2 separate regions of the Homo sapiens genome follow, and region 2 is linked to region 1. Evidence: promoter capture Hi-C in 16 types of primary human blood cells and fetal thymus (Javierre and others, 2016). All regions are on one chromosome and are shown on one strand. The core of a region is centred on a gene start or on the middle of the fragment in contact, and the rest is flanking DNA. Distances in the headings are between cores, read along the strand shown.

The links. The method cuts DNA at HindIII sites, captures the fragments that hold promoters and counts their contacts. A CHiCAGO score of 5 or more calls a contact.
Region 2: a fragment that was not itself captured here is called in contact with the fragment with the promoter of NEUROD4 in region 1 in 4 of 17 cell types (neutrophils, M0 macrophages, M2 macrophages and 1 more); the score reaches 6.8 in neutrophils.

Annotation. Positions count from the first base shown.
Region 1 is chr12:55,018,354-55,021,407 of GRCh38, reverse strand. It overlaps NEUROD4 (neuronal differentiation 4), which reads right to left and starts at 1,434. Exons shown (of 2, transcript NM_021191.3): 1 at 1,095-1,434. The HindIII fragment of the contact is 8,784 bases long and covers 1-2,189 here.
Region 2 is chr12:55,625,831-55,628,726 of GRCh38, reverse strand. No RefSeq gene overlaps it. Among named protein-coding and RNA genes, the nearest start is that of OR10P1, 9.6 kb to the left of the region's middle. The HindIII fragment of the contact is 3,558 bases long and covers 1-2,896 here.

The DNA.
Region 1 (3,054 bases), core at 185-2,684:
GACTAAATACAACAGAAAGGGGGCTGTCCAGCCCAGTTTCTAGGAAATCTAAGAACTAAATAGACTAAATTCTTTTCCCAGAGTTGCACAGTCTTGGCACTAAAAAGACAGAATCCAAATCAGGATGTTCACAAGTTGTACTGCTTGGAAAAAGCCAGTAGTTTGCTCTATGCTCTTCTTTTCTACTCTACTATTTTCCCCTTTATTAATATATGTGCACATGTATGTACATGCATGCACATACACACACATTTTGTCCAGCAAAGCCATGTAATACTTCAGGTGCCATTGCCTCAGATCTTAATAGTTAACAGAAGTTATTCAGTCCCTTATTTTTCCCTGCATGTTCTTCAGCATTTCACCTCTGCTTCCTCTGTCAAAAAAATGGGGGTGGGTATTTTACATTTAATTAGTATTTTCTGAGTATACTTTTTTTGCGGGCAAATGATGAGTGTGAAGCAGAGAAAGGAAAAATATACTTGGACAATCTTTTTCTTCTAATTTCCCATCTGAAAGAGCTGAGGAAAAGGAAATTTCCCCCACCCTGTGCCAACTATTCAAGCATTTTTAGTAAACAAAATAGTTAATGGTGAGAATCTACCCCGAGGATTTTCCACAATCTTCTCTGATTCCTCATTCTGTTTTCCTTTCCCTGCCTCCCCCTCCGTCCTTGCATAGCCCTAAAATGCTGTGAGCAGAGTGGTGGATTGGGTCAATTCTTCCAACCTACTTGCTGGGCCACCTTGGAAAAGCAGTTAAACTTTTCGACATTTTCACCACTAACAAAATGAAAGAGTGGCTTTGACAGGAATTGGGGGAGATCATCTGTATTCTTCACTTTATTAAAATGATTGTGAGTGTCTATGTGTTTCACTTTGGGTGGCAAGTGCTATAAAATTTAATAAAATTATTTAAAATGTTTATATTTGTCCCTAAGTGTTCCAACTCACTAGCTTCTACATTCCAAGTTTCCTAAATCTCACTTCCTCCTGCCTTACCCAGAAGAGACTTTCCTCACCCCAACTGCTCCTCTAGGTGAGTGGGAACTTCCCACAGAAACTTTAGCCCCCTTACCACCCCAACCACTGGCTCACCTCGGTCACTGGCCGTTCCTGGAGTGAACTCTGTGAATCTGCGTCTTAGAGGACAGTCAGAGAAGCCAAGTCTCCCTGACCATCCAGATGGTAGAAGAGACGCTTTCAGCGATCCATGTCAAACCCGGTTGTTACCTCTTAGAGATTCCACCGGGTCTGGTTTCTCTGCCTGCTCCTTATTCTACTCCTTCCTTGGAGTTCCGTATGCTCCTCAAGGACGCCTTCGGGCTGATCTCTCCGCTGCAGCCAGTTTAGTCGCTCTTCAGTACCTCCTCTCCCTGGTTAGCTCCCCGGAGAGGAGCTTTCAGGACCACAAGCCTCTGGGCAGCTCCTGCTCTCTGGCCGGAGCCTCTGACTTGCTGCAGTTTTGATTGCTCTCCCAGCTGACCAGGGAGGAGTGATGTTGCCCAGAGTCTAACTCCTCCCTTTTCCCCAGCCGAAAGACACGCCCACTTGAAAGGCTCCTCCGGCCAGGTCCAGTTTTGCCGCCCGTTTGTTTGTTTAAATAGAGATGGGGGTTGGTGGAAGGGGAGCAGGGGAGGAGAGTTGCTGAAGTTAAGGAGTAAAGAAAAAGAGGACTGGAAACCTTTGTGATTAAAAAGATAAGAAATGGGAGCGGAGTAGTGTGGACAGAATGGAGAAAGAAAATTGGGGATAGACTTGGAGAGAGAGCTAAAAAGGGCAGATGACGCTGCTGACCCACGTCTGAAAAGAATCAAAAGGTGAGAAAGATGCGTGTCAAGGACACAGCATCAGTGGCTGCTTCCTTACACATGTGGACTGGGGTCTTTGGCTTATAAACTTCAGCGTTCTAAAAGTAGAAGGAAGAAGTATGTCTCTCCCACCTTTTCAGCACGTCAAAGCTACTCTCATTAAAACTTTTAATTTGTGAATTTAGGTGAAGCTATATTTGTTGTGCTATTCTTTCAACTTTCTGATCACTTTAAATTTATAAAAACAAAAAGGAAATTAATAAAATCCTTCATTTTAAGGGCAGTTAGTTCCTTGAGTTACAAACTGAGATCTACTATTGTTTTTCAAAAATACATCATTAAGCATTCACGTAGAAAAAGTCCACCTGAGTAGTAATAAGCTTAGAAGAAGAGAAGGCTCATAATAATTCCTAAAACTCCTTTGGTATTAGGAGGTTGAATTAAATTGCTAGAAGACAGAAAGAAAACTACATCTGGAATAATTTAAGTATATAGATATTCATACTATCTTATTTAAAACTACACCAAGGAAAAATAAATGATTGTGAACTTAAGATACCAAAGATTTTCTAATCATCTTGTGTTTCCAAGAAGGAAAAAGAAAGGTGCTCAGATTAAGCAATTGGCTGAATGATCTTGAATAAGTCAACTTCACTCTGGGCATCAGTTTTCATATCTGTAAAATGAGTTTTTCCATCAGTAGCCTGATAGAGTTACGAATCCAAGTTCAACTTCTTTTAGAAATTGACTTGAAGGATAATTCCTCAGGCGTTTTGGCAAAAGGCAAAACATTTATACAATCTGAAAAGAAACCAGAGTATCCCCAGCTTTTTGAGAATCGCGTGGTCTAACAACATAACTAGCACATGCGTCAAACAGAAATGAAAAACTATTAATATGCCTGTGTGCAAGGAAAACTGTAGAGGGCTGAAACAAAAGATAGTTTCACTGCTCATAAAGTTGAAAAGAGTATCTTAAGTTTGAAAATAGTTATTTTTAATTCTGATATGTGTCATATGACTCTTGTTTTTCACAGAAAACAAGAAAATAAAAATTAACACTTTTTTCAGTTTTCATGGGAAGTTATTTATTTTCAGCAGCTCTTTAATCTCTTACTTATCTTTATTTGTATCCCTATCCAGAAAAATATCTGCTCAGGAAAATAAACTTCATTTTCAGAATAATTAAACAACACATGATGGGAATAGCAGATCTCTAAAAAACAAATCAGAATTCACTCCTCGGCC
Region 2 (2,896 bases), core at 300-2,799, 610 kb before region 1:
ATTGGAGGATGGAAGACTGGTAATCTTTGGTTTTCAGCCTTCCGATGTGAAACAGTTACAGAAATAACTACCTATCATCATCTGAAGTGCCGCTGAATGGTGATTCCTGAGCATGGTATGGGTACAAGGAGTTAAATGACAGTGAGTTTGGTTGCTGTTCATAACTGCTCTGGCAGCTTAAAGAAAGAAACTGTCAGGCTTAGGTCTTTTATATTTTCAGCTAAACACATAAAACTTGTAGCTTTGCCAGGGGCCCAGAGTAAGAGAAGGATATTGGCTGGTCCAGGCTGCAATACAGCTAATTCTGTTGCTGGCTTTTATGACTAAGGGAATCTGAAGGTGTGAGAAGTGCCATGGCTGAATTGGTGCTGTTTGGAGCCTGTGAAAAGCCCCATTCACAGAAGAGTTGTAGTGGAGGCCCCAAGGATTCAGAGAAAGTCCACGCCCTCTTCACCAAGTAACTATTATACTTTTGAGAAATATCTCCTTGTTTGTTATTTATGTATTTTTGAGACAGGGTCTCACTTTGTCATCCAGGCTGGAGTGCAGTGACACAATCAGGACTCATTGCAGCCTCGACCTCCTGGGCTCAAGCAATCCTTCTGTCTCAGCCCCCCTGAGTAGCTGGGACTACAGGTGTGCGCCAGCACGCCTGGCTAAGTTTTAAAACTTTTTTAGTAGCAATGAGGTTTCACTATGTTCCCCAGGCTGGTCTCAAATTCTTGAGCTCAAGTGATCCTCCTGCCTTGGCCTCCCAAAGTGCTGGGATTACAAGCACAAGCCACTGCTCTGAGCCATTGCTTGTTATTTGATCTCTGGCAGAGGATAAACACCTGACCCTGGGATACCAGGTGACTCTGCAACCTGAGCTGCCCTTTATGACCTGGGTGTTTCCCAATTGATAAAGCTGCATGGTCAGGCCCAGAAGCACCCCATCTTCAAGTGAAGGGGCATACATGAGATCAGACTTGAAGAAGTCCTGAAGTCACAAGGACATTCCACCAGTTCATGGTCCACACTCCCGTCATGTCTATTCTTGACACACTAATGTCCTTTCTTCCTATGGCCTCATGTAGTGTTCCTCATGACTGGTTGATGGAGGAGGAAAAATATTTGGGCCCAGCTTTACAGAGAACTTTGCACAACTCTGCTGGGACTAACTAGATATGGACATCTATGGCATTATAGCCCCAGTAATGGGGGTTGACCCTGAGGAAAAAAGGGGTGACCTGAGGAAGAGTGGAGAAGAAAAATGCCTGCTGAGCAGAATTTTGATAGTACAACTTAAAGAGTCTGCTTTTCCTGGAAGAAGGATGGCCTGAGATATGGATTTACATTGATCCATGAGCAGCAGCTAATGGTTTGTTTGGCAGGAGGTTTAGGAAGTAGAAGGAACAATACAGGAGAATGAGTGACAAGGCATTCTGGGGATCATCATCATCACCATCATCATCATCACTAACACTTCTGTAATGCTCACTCTGTGTCAGATATTGTTCTAAGCACTTTTTATATATTAACTTACTGAATCCTCCCAAAACACTGTGGGGTAGTTTCAACTATTATGCTGACTTTACTGAAGAGGAATCTGAGGCATAGCGTGGTTAGGCACTTGAACAAGACCATACAGCTAGTAAATGGCTGAGCTGGCATTTGAATCCAGGTGATCTGGCTGCAGAGTTCATGCTCTCAACCATCTTACTATTCTATGAATGAGCTTTTGAAAATGGGTCCAGACTGCGAGACTATTTGTGAATATGTGGGACAATGGTGAGACAATGTGGATGCTCACGAAAGGTCTCTCACTACAGAAGATACTGTTAATACTTAGGGATCAAGATGACCCAGCTGGTAGATGTCAGTCAGCCTTCTCCAGCATCTCCAGTGCTTATTCAAGGGATCACAATCAAAATGTCCATGGCGGAAGGGATGAAGGTTAGGCACAGGCTTACCGACAATGGTTCCCCTCACCAAGGCTGGTCTGGCTATGCCATGGCTGAGTGTGTAACTTGCCAGTAACAATAGCTTGGTGTAGTAGGCAGCCTCTAAGATAGTTCTCCATGAAACTCATCTTCTGATACTCATGCATTTGTGTAATTCTCTCCCTTTTAGTGTAGGTTGGAACCAGTGACCTGCTTTTAATGAAGGGAACATGGCAAAAGTGATGGGATATCTGACATTATGTTGCAAAAAGACTTGGCTTTCATCTTGGGTCCTGTCTGGTTCTCCTCTGCCTCTGTCTCTGTCTTTCTCTTCCCCCTTCTCACAAGTTGCCATATTGAGGACACTCGGCAGCCTGTGGAGAGACTCACATGAGGAAGAGCCAAAGCCTGCCAGCAACCATGTGAGTGAACCTGGAAATAGATCTGAGGCCTGCCAACAGGCACATGAATGAGTTTAGAAGTGGATTTTCCAACCTCAGTTGTCCCTTAAGTGACTGCACCCTCGGTGACAGCTTGACTCCATCCTCGTGAGAGACCCTGAGCGAGAGGCACCCAGCTCATTGCTCTCTCCTGGATTCTTGACCAACTCAAACTGTGAGATGATAATTGTCTGTGGTTTTAGGCAGGGAAGTTTTGTAGTAATTTGTTACATAGCAATGGGTAACTAATATGCCTGGGGATAGTTTGATTACATTGTACCCCTTGCCTGAAGGAGGCAATGCTCTGCACTCACTGGGATAATCACTTACTCTGGGCATGGATTTATCTTTCCTGTCTGCCTGCATCTGCAAGTGTCACCATCCACGGACTTACTGAATGCTGCATTTGTTGTCATGATATTTCACATAATATTGCATCTAATCAAGGAAAAAATATATAGCAAAACAAGTGAGACAATGTGCCAATGCTCACAGGACTCATTGGGATTACCCTGTAACTTCATTCCCCAGAAC